Linked DNA regions of Homo sapiens: region 2 is linked to region 1. The links are contacts of gene promoters, found by promoter capture Hi-C in human tissues and cell types (Jung and others, 2019). All regions are on one chromosome and are shown on one strand. The core of a region is centred on a gene start or on the middle of the fragment in contact, and the rest is flanking DNA. Distances in the headings are between cores, read along the strand shown.

Evidence for each region. The method cuts DNA at HindIII sites, captures the fragments that hold promoters and counts their contacts. A contact is called where the count stands out against the background at its distance.
Region 2: a contact is called between the fragment with the promoter of SERPIND1 here and the fragment with the promoter of ZNF74 in region 1, in 3 of the 25 tissues and cell types used here (heart right ventricle, lymphoblastoid cells and mesenchymal stem cells).

Annotation. Positions count from the first base shown.
Region 1 is chr22:20,392,498-20,397,688 of GRCh38, forward strand. It overlaps ZNF74 (zinc finger protein 74), which reads left to right and starts at 1,654. Exons shown (of 5, transcript NM_003426.4): 1 at 1,654-2,165; 2 at 2,836-2,921. The coding sequence starts at 2,132. RefSeq lists enhancers at 764-1,753, 1,155-1,224, 1,695-1,834. The HindIII fragment of the contact is 17,508 bases long and covers 1-5,191 here.
Region 2 is chr22:20,771,073-20,776,079 of GRCh38, forward strand. It overlaps SERPIND1 (serpin family D member 1), which reads left to right and starts at 3,041. Exons shown (of 5, transcript NM_000185.4): 1 at 3,041-3,073. The region is part of intron 19 of PI4KA (phosphatidylinositol 4-kinase alpha); the gene reads right to left. The HindIII fragment of the contact is 14,489 bases long and covers 1-4,559 here.

The DNA.
Region 1 (5,191 bases), core at 404-2,903:
CCCACGGCGGTGGGTAGGCTCAGGCATGGCGGGCTGCAGGTCCCGAGCCCTGCCCCGCGGGGAGGCAACGAAGGCCCGGCGAGAAGTCGAGCACAGCAGCTGCTGGCCCAGGTGCTAAGCCCCTCACTGCCCGGGTCCGGCTGGCAGCTCCGAGTGCGGGGCCCGCTGAGCCCACGCCCACCCGGAACTCGTGCTGGCCCGCAAGCGCTGCGCGCAGTCCCGGTTCCCGCCCGCGCCTCTCCCTCCACACCTCTCGGCAAGCTGAGGGAGCCGGCTCCGGCCGCAGCCAGCCCAGGAAGGGGCTCCCACAGTGCAGCGGTGGGCTGAAGGGCTCCTCAAGCGCGGCCAGAGTGGGCGCCAAGGCCGACTAGGCGCCGAGAGCGAGCAAGGGCTGTGAGGACTGCCAGCACGCTGTCCCCTCTCACTGGGTTGCTATTAAAAATGGGCGCTGAATATAAAAATTAACCGGGCGTGGTGGTGCATGTCTGTAAGTCCCAGCTACTCCGGAGGCTGAGGTGGGAGAATAGTTTGAGCCCGAGAGACTGAGGCTACGGTGAGCCGTGATTGTGCAACTGCACTCCAGCCTGGGCGACAGAGTGAGACCCAGTCTCAAAACAAAATCAAACACGGGCGCTGCCCTGGGCAGGGGAGGTCTGGGCACAGCTGTGCTGATGTGGGCAGTGGACAGGTGTCACGTGAGAGCCTGTGGCCAAGCCTAAGCTGCGGTTAAGGTGGGAGGCTGAAGGGTTTGGAGTGTGCACCACCCCGGACCACCTCTCAGTAGGAATGTGGCAATGCACTTCGGTGCTGGATTCCTACTTCTGGCTGTGTGATTTGCGACACGTTACCCCACGCACCTGTACCACAACTTCCTCATCTCCCAAATGGGATGACAGTAGTTAGCAAACCTCCCTGGACTGCTGTGAGCATTCTGCCAGAAAAATGTACTCCAAGCTCTTGAAGTAGGCCTGGCGTTTGGTTGGTGCTCAGTACATATTCAATGTTTCTGTCGCTGGCGTCATCACTGTGTTCATGGCAGAGCTCTGTGCCGCCAGGACTGGGCCGCCACCCAGACCTTCCTTTCCCGCCCCAGGGGTGAACTGTGGACAGGACCCTCTGGGGGGACTAGGCCAAGGCTCTCCCACCTCTGGGGACCCGCGCCCATGGGCCTCAGATATGTGGCTCGAGAAGGGGGAGTGGGGGCAGGGCCCCTGGAAAACCCCTCGAGGCCAGACCCACCACTCCCAATATCCGTAAGACCAGGGGCTTGAGTCTTTCCTGCAGACAGATGTGGGCAGGAACCCACCCGACTCCCAGCTACGTGGGGACGTGGACGAACTAACAGGACAAATTCTAGTTCCTGGACACCGCCCTCCCAGTATCCTCGCAATTAGACACCCATGCAGCGGCACTACACTGATCCGCACACGGAGATACACAGCGACATCCGCCCGCAAGAGCATGGTGGGTGCCGGAGCTCCCGGCTGTGGGCCCAGGAACTACATTTCCTAGAAGGATGTGCTAGATACTCGTTCGCGTCGGGACGCAAGCACCGGCCCGAACTCGCTCTAGGAAATGGAGTCTGACGCCTGCGCGGCGCAAACGCTCCCGGGAGGTGTAGTTTGCGCCTATTTCGCGCAGGCGCGCTTTCCCGCAGCGGCCGCCTGCTGCTCTTTGTGGCAGTCGCAGTCCTTTTGTGGGAGTCCGGTCTGTCCACTTGCCGGTCCCTCAGACCGTCGGCGGTCTCTGTCCGCTTCGGGACCTGTCCGCTGGTCGCTCCGCGTCCGATGGCTCCTGGCCGCGGAACCTTAGGCCTGGCCCTGGTCTCCGAGCGCGGGTTCGCCGGGAGGAGCGTGTGGCGGGGGTGTGCCGGGGCGTGAGTGCGCCGAGCATGGGGCTGAGCCTGGTGTGGGGAGTGGGTATCTGCGGAGCCGGCCTGAACCCCACCTCAGCCGGGCGCGGGGAGGGGGCTCCGTGCGTGTGATCGTGCAGCTGTGAGCGCGTGGCCGCCCCGCGGGGCTCCGCTGCAGGCCCCTCAGCCCCAGGAGCAGTACTCGCTCTTCAGGGCCTGCCCTGGATCCTGGAGGCTACACAGCTGCCCACTCCTCCTGGGGAGGCTGCCGTGGAGGCCATGGAGATCCCTGCCCCGGAGCCCGAGAAGACAGGTACAGCTTCACTCTTGTAGTCAGTATGTCTGTGGATTTGCACTTGAGGATATTGACACTCAGAGAGATCAGGCCAGTTTCCCAGAAGCATCCAGCATCTTTTTTTTTTTTTTTAAATGGAATCTCACTCTGTCACCCAGGCGGGAGTGGTGCAATGGCTTGATCTCCGCTCACTGCAACCTCTGCTTCCCGGGTTCAAACTATTCTCCCGCCTCAACCTCCCAAGTAGTTGGGATTGCAGGCGCGCGCCACCACGCCCGGCTAATGTTTGTATTTTTAGTAGAGACGGGGTTTTGCCATGTTTCCCAGGCTGGTCTTAAGCTCAAGCGATCCGCCCGCCTCGGCCTCCCAAAGTGCTGGGATTACAGGCGTGAGCCATCGCTCCTGGCCTCCTGCTTCTTTCTTCCCCGCGCCCAATCATTTGTTCCCACTCAGACGTGCTTGATTGGGGGTAGCAGCTCTTTTCGTCATGAATTGGAGTGTCTGAGACACAGGCAGATTATTCCTCGATGCTGTTTCTGTTGGTGCTAGCTACTGGGGCTCGTTCCCCACCTGGCCTTGCTGGCAGGTTCTGCCTCCTCTCTGATTCTCACTTGTGCCACGACAGGTGGGCTTTAAGCTCAGCCGTGAGCCTGGTAGCCGTGACCTTGACTCATTTCTCCTTCGCCAGCTCTTTCCTCTCAGGATCCTGCTCTTTCCCTGAAAGAGAATCTCGAGGATATATCGGGTTGGGGTCTTCCCGAAGCCAGGTCCAAGGTGAGTGGCTGTGTGTTCTTCCTTCTTTATGAAGAGGGTTGGCACATTCCCTCCCCAGCCCTGGATCGTCAGCCTTCCACAGACCTTCACCCGGGTACCTGCTGGCCAGTCCTCAGGAAGCTCTGGGCAGTGGGAACAGCTCCAAGTGAAGAGTCCAGATGTTGCCCGAGGTGTGCCCTCGAGATGTGCTCTATTGAATGTCTCGCCCAGTCCAATTCAGTGGGTCAGTTGCTGGGGATCTCTCTGCCCAGCGCTGTGCTGGGAGCTCTGAGGAGTGGTTTTAGTGGAATCTGAGAAAGTAGTTGACGGCTCACATGGGGTCGCTTTGCCTATCCACGTGCTGGCCAGGGGTTGGTGCAGGATGTTTGCACGGTTGGTTTACTGGGACTGGAATCAGACAGGGGCACGTGGAGCAGCTCAGGAAGGGCTGGATTGCAGCACTTGGTTAAGAGTGGCGGTAGGGGACACATCCCTGTGTGCTTTCCTCTGTACCCAGCCCCTGGCATGGGGCCTTCATGGAGAGTCCTGGAGATTTAGAGAATCTGGGGGCTCAGCAAGGAATTGGCCCTGGGAACTTCTGCAGCCAAATGGGACCCAGATCCCTCCTTTTACAGACTGTGAACTCTGTTCCTCATTTTGTTTTTCTACCGCAACCACCTCACCCCATGGTTGTATTTAGAAGGGTGCAGTTGACAAAGAGAGCACAGTAGAGTGAAAGATGTGGAGGAATAAGGGGTCTTTGGGTTTTTGTTTTTTTTTTAGCATTTTGTGATTTTGTCAGTCTGCCACTCAAAAGAGGTGATGGCAGATTATAGCCAGCTAGAAACAGCTGCAAAACGTGTATTGTGAGCTGTGCCTCACTTCTGTAGTGTGTCACAATGCTTTATAGTCCTCAAGAAACTTGACAGTCAAATGCAATGCATGTTCCTTGCTTAGGGGATAGATCCAAAAAAATTGATAAAGGGCAGTTTGGGACAAGAGGAAATTTGAAAATGGGCTGTATCTTAGGTCATATTGTATCAATATGAAATTTATTGCATGTGATAATAGTACTGTGATTATGTAAGAGAATATCCACAGGAGATACAAGCTGAAGACTGTAGAGTGAGACATCATGATGTCTGCAACTTACCTTCAAATGGTTCAGCAAAAAAAAATGTGTGTGCATGTATGTATGTCTGTATGTGTCTGTGCAGCTCCGTCTAGGTGGTAGGGCCCTCATGCATGTGTTATTCCTATTCCTAAAATATTAGCTTGTTAGATCTTTGAATAACCAGTTGACTCTCCTGAGTACACATCAGCTTTGGCATTTTCTCTTGACAGTCTCATTCTCACTCACAGTTCAAGTTGTTCTGTCTCCTGGGACATCTTGTGTGGTCTGTTCTGACTTCTCTGCTAGTGTCATTACCACATCAGCATCTGATTCCAATGCATACTGTCTGGGTTTTTTATTCCTTTCCCTGCAGAATGATGACACATTAGACATGGACTTCTCCCAGTGGCCAGAAATACCCATCAAAAAGGCCTGTGCGGGCCTCAGACCCTACCCTACTCTTGCTGGTTTTGCTCCCCACACTGAAGCCATGTAGCCTCTGACAGCCTCACTGGCCAACACCATATTCTGATACCTGTGGAGCTATTTTTTTGTTTTTCTTTCTTTTTCTTTTTTTTTTTTTGAGACAGAGTCTTGCTCTGTCGCCCAGGCTGGAGTGCAGTGGCACAATCATAGCTCACTGCAGCCTTCAACTCCTGGGCTCAAGCAAATCCCCCACCTCGGCCTCCTAAGTAGTTGGGACCAACGTGTGTGCCCCCACACCTGGCTTGGAGCCTTGTTTCAGCCCATTTTCTCCTTCCCTCGGCTATCGTCATCCTTCATGCCTGCATGCCTCAGTTAGGGGTGTGTTCTCAGCATTTGTCCTCATCTCTACCTCCTCATCTGAAATCCAGTGTTTTGGGGGGTAAGGTTTTATTGAGGTGTAATTTATATACAGCACAGTTGTACAATTTTAAGTATACAATTTGATGAGGTTGAGCAAACGTATACAGTTGTGTAACCAGCACCACAATCATGATATGGGACGTTTCCATGACCCAAAAATGTCCTCATGCCCCTGTGCATTCAGTGGTCTCCCCTCTCCCCTTGGTAACCACTATAGTTTTGCTGTAGATTTTCCTCTTTAAGGATTTCATATGGAATTTATATTATGTGGTCTTTTGTCTCTGCTTTATTTCGCTTAGCATATGCTTTTGAGTTTATCCATATTGTTGTG
Region 2 (5,007 bases), core at 1,791-4,290, 380 kb after region 1:
TTGAAACTGCAAAAGAACAATGGAGTATGTGTGACAGGAGGTACTGCTCTACAGTGGGGTTAAAGCCATACACAAGCTGTGGTGGCTCACGCCTGTAATCCCAGCACTTTGGGAGGCCGATGCGGGCGGATCATGAGGTTAGGAGTTCAAGACCAGCCTGGCCAGCATGGTGAAACCCGTCTCTACTAAAAATACAAAACATTAGCCAGACGTGGTGGTGGGCACCTGTAGTCCCAGCTACTAGGGAGGCTGAGGCAGGAGAATGGCGTGAACCCAGGAGGCGGAGCTTGCAGTGAGCTGAGATTGCGCCACTGCACTCCAGCCTGGGCGACAGAGCGAGACTCTGTCTCAAAAAAAAAAAAGCCATACACAAGCTGTTACCACTAAATGGGAAAATGACTGAAAAATGTCAATGTCAAGAGGGACTGAAATCAAATTTTTCCAATAGTGGGTTACATGATCAGAAATCCAAATAGACAGGAAATATGTTGGCTTTATTTATTTATTTATTTATTTATTTATTTATTTAGACAGAGTCTCACTCTGTCACCCAGGCTGGAGTACAGTGGCATGAACTCGGCTCACTGCAACCTTCACCTCCCAGGTTCAAGCGATTGTCCTGCCTCAGCCTCCCGAGTAGCTGGGACTACAGATGTGTGCCACCACACCCAGCTAATTTTTGTATTTTTAGTAGGGACGGGGTTTTACCATGTTGGTCAGGCTGGTCTTGAACTCCTGACCTCAAGTGATCCACCCGCCTTGGCCTCTCAAAGTGCTGGGATTACAGGTGTGAGCCACCACACCTGGCCGGTACTGGCTTTAAAAATAACAAAAGTAATACATACACATAGAAAAAGGTCAAACAAAGAAGTACATAGAATGAAAAATGAATGCTGTGTCCCCTCCCAGACCATTTCTGTGAATAAATATGTAATACCATGAAATGATGAGGACTAACATTTTCTGAATGCCAGGCACCACTCTATGTGCTTTCCACACATTCATTAACCTCATTTAATTTTCTCATTTAATTAATGAGATAAATTAATGTATCTCATTTAATTTTCACAACAACCTCATGCAGTAGGTGTAACTGTCACCCTCATTTCAGAGAGCAGAATACTGAGAGCTGGAGGCCAAGGGGCAATTTCAGCCAGGGTGGCTGGTGACGCCTCGGTGAAACCAAGAGCGAACAGTGAGAGCAGCGGCCACCTGCTGGTCTGCAGGGATGGTGTCCTGGGCAGAAAGAATAGCAAGTGCCAGGGCTGTGCTGGGGCCGGGCTTTGCATGTGTGAGAACAAGACAGAGAATGAGGGAGGTGGGCCCACGAGGAGTGTGGGCACAGACAGCAGCCTCTGCCTGTGGTGCCACGCTGAAGACTCAGTATTGTATGTGACAGATGAAGGCTCTAAGAAGACAGCTCTGACAAAAGCTAGAGTGCAAAATCAGACTCAGACACAACCACCGGTCTGTGTCCTGAACACAATGGACCTTTACACTCTGGAATTTCTCAAACGGAGCAATGCACAGACACCCCCATGGGCCCCTTGCACACCCGCAGATTCTCCTAGGAGTCACATTCTCTCTTCAGATAGACTCTGGGTGCCGACACTCCCAAACATGCTCTTGAGGAGCAGTCTCTGTGATAAGCTGATCTTCCAGACAATCCAGAATATTCTTAAAACTTTTTAGATCATAAAATTTAAAACACAAATTAAAAAACAAATTATCATAAGGCCGGGCACAGTGACTCATGCCTGTAATCCCAGCACTTTGCAAGGCTGAAGCAGGAGGATCACTTGAGCCCAAGAGTTCAAGACCAGCCTAGGCAACATAGTGAGACCCTGTCTCTACAAAAAAGTCAAAAGTTAGCTAGACATGGTGGTGTGCACCTGTATTCCCAGCTACTTGCAGGGCTGAGGTGAGGAGGATTGCTTCAGCTCGGGAGGTTGAGGCTGCAGTGAGCCAAGATCACGCCACTGCACTCCAGCCTGGGTAACAGAGTGAGACCCTGTCTCAAAAAACACATAGGGCCAGGCGTGGTGGCTCACGCATGTAATCCCAGCACTTTGGGAGGCCGAGACGGGAGGATCACTTCACTCCAGGAGTTCAACACCAGCCTGGCCAACATAGTGAAACCCCGTCTCTACTAAAAATACAAAAAATTAGTTGGACATGGTGGTGTGCGCCTGTAATCTCAGCCACTCAGGAGGCTGAGGCAGGAGAACGCTTGAACTTGGGAGACAGAGGTTGCAGTGAGCTGAGATCGCACCACTGCACTCCAGCATGGGCAGCAGCGCGAAACTCTGTCTCAAAACAAACAAACAAACAAACAAACACCCATAAACACAAAATGTATCACAGCCTCAGAGATCCCCACGAATGCCTAAGTGGCCCTGAATTTGGGAGGCACTGCTCAGTAATAGTCCTATCTGTCCCACAACAGACAGGAGTGCTGGGCTGCACCTACTGGCAACAAACACAGCAACCCTTGACTGAAGAAAGGTCCATGCCACAATCCCCTTATTCTGTAAGCCACTAATTTTGTCCTCTCTCCTCCACCTTTCACTGAGGAACGAGCTCTTGGAAGGACAGGGACACCCGCCTAGTAGCTGAGCCAGCCACATCAGTCCTGGAGAGCAGGTGGAGGGCAGATGCTGTGATCATCCCAGAAGAGAGGACACAGTTGGAGGCAGATGCATGGTCTCTACTTTCAGCTACCCTCAATGCAGCCTGGTCCCCAGAGGCCTGAAGAGCGCCTTGTTTATGTGGTGACCTCAAGAGGGGCTGCTCCTGCACCAAGGCTATGTGTGCATGCTAACACAGTAACCGTCATATACTCAAAGTGTCAGCTCTAAGAACTGGAGATGAGGAGCTGCAAGCCACTCTACAGTTATCAAAGGCACAGCTGAGGGGGTTTGTGCTGACCAAGCTGGTTGCCTGGTGTTTGGATTGGGACTTATTTACTTTGGAAAATATGCAGCAACAGCCCAGCACCAAAGTTCACATCAAAATCCCACTGATGACCTTGGCTGCTTTCATCTCTGAAGCGCCACTTCTCAGAAACACAGAGGTAAGTTGGGTTTCTAATGTTTCTGCTGATTATAAATTATTTTTGGTGTTTACGGATAGGCAACTGGTTCATTTTTCTAGCAAACTAAGAATTCAGAAGCTTTCTACACTGTTTTAGAAGTGGGAAATGGTTTCATTTTTCAGTGTGCCTATTATAAAATTGTGTCAGTTCCATTGTTGGGAGAGTTGACAAACTTAGAATAGGAGCTGTGGAATAGATGAAAATATTGTACTTATATTAAATTAATCGAATTGGATAACTGTCCTGTGATTATGTATGAGAATATCCTTGCTCTTGGGTATTTTCCCTGAAGTATTAGTATTAAAGGTTAGAGGGGCCGGGTGCAGTGGCTCACGCCTGTAATCCCAACACTTTGGGAGGCCGAGGCGGGTGGATCACGAGGTCAGGAGTTCAAGACCAGCCTGACCAACATGGTGAAGCCAAGTCTCTACTAAAAATACAAAAATTAGCTGGGCGTGGTGGCACGCGCCTGTAATCCCAGCTACTCAGGAGGCTGAGGCAGGAGAATCGCTTAAACCCGGGAGGCAGAGGTTGCAGTGAGCGGAGATCGTGCCACTGCACTCCAGCCTGGACAACAGAGTTAGACTCCGTCAAAAAAAAAAAAAAAAAGAAGAAAAAAGAAAAAATGTTAGAGGAACAAGATATAGGAGACCTACTCTCAAATGGTCTAGAAGAAAAAATGTGTATGTGCATGCCTGTGAGAACACACACGTACGTACACACACACACAGATAATGACAGGGCAAAGGTTCCAAAATTTTAAACCTGGTAAATCTCGGTACGGGTATACAGGAGTTGTTCTACTACACTATTCTTTCAACATTTTTGGAAGTTTGAACTTACTTCAAAATAAAAAGTTTTCCAAACTTTAGGCAGTTACTTCTCTCCCATTCTGCCTGCTCTGTTGGGCCTGGAGACCATACACCAGGAGGGATGACGGTTTATCAAGTGTTATGCTCTGATGCGTGACTGAAAAGGCCAACCCAGCTCTGGCAATTAGCAAGAAAGCACAATATGAAGTTCCCAGGAAAAAAAAAAAGCAAAACAAACTTTTGAATGATTTATCTTTAAAATATATTGTTTCTCTTCAAACAGTAATCTGGATTTAATCACAACCTAGTGATAGTTTTTAAACGTCTTCTACAATGTTTGTTATACTAAATAGCAAAACATCAGGAAGATTTACCTTCAGATCTTTAATTTCAATCCATAAAAGATATCAGAGATATTTTCTCCTTCCTCTGGTAAGGGAATGACGAAAACTATTTTTGGCTTTTTATCAGATAATGTGGGAACAGGGTATAAGAAGTTTCCAAATATAACTTCTGAATACCGGGATAAAACATGCATGTCTTTACTCTGCCACTCTATCTGGCCTCAGATACGTTTTCCTGAATGCTTATTTATTCAAGTTGGTTTTTGTTTTGTTCTTTAACCTTATTTTTATCTGAGAAGAAAACATTTTCCCCCTTTGTTCCTTCTTCTTTTGGCTTTCTTTTTTAAAATAGAGATGAGGTCTTGCTATGTTGCTCCAGCTGGTCTTGAACTCCTGGGCTCAAGCGATCCTCCTGCCTTGGCCTCCCAAGATGCTAAGATTACAGGTGTGAGCCCCTATGCCTGGTCTTCTTCTTCTTGATCTTAGCCAAAAGGCCAAGAAGTGATAAGAGGAGGACACTTGAAGTGTAGTTGGGCAAGGAGCCTTCTACCAGCTGCTTACTTTCTTTGTTCCTGACTTTTAAAAGTGTGTTGCTATTGATACACAGTCTCCTGATATGTAAAATGCTGGGAGGATGAAGCTAAGTTACTCAAAGTGCCATTCAGAAACTGGGCCCAGTTCTATTTGCAGCTACATACATTAGAAATCATTTCTAGAGGCTGAGCATGGTAACTCATACCTGTAATTCCAGCACTTT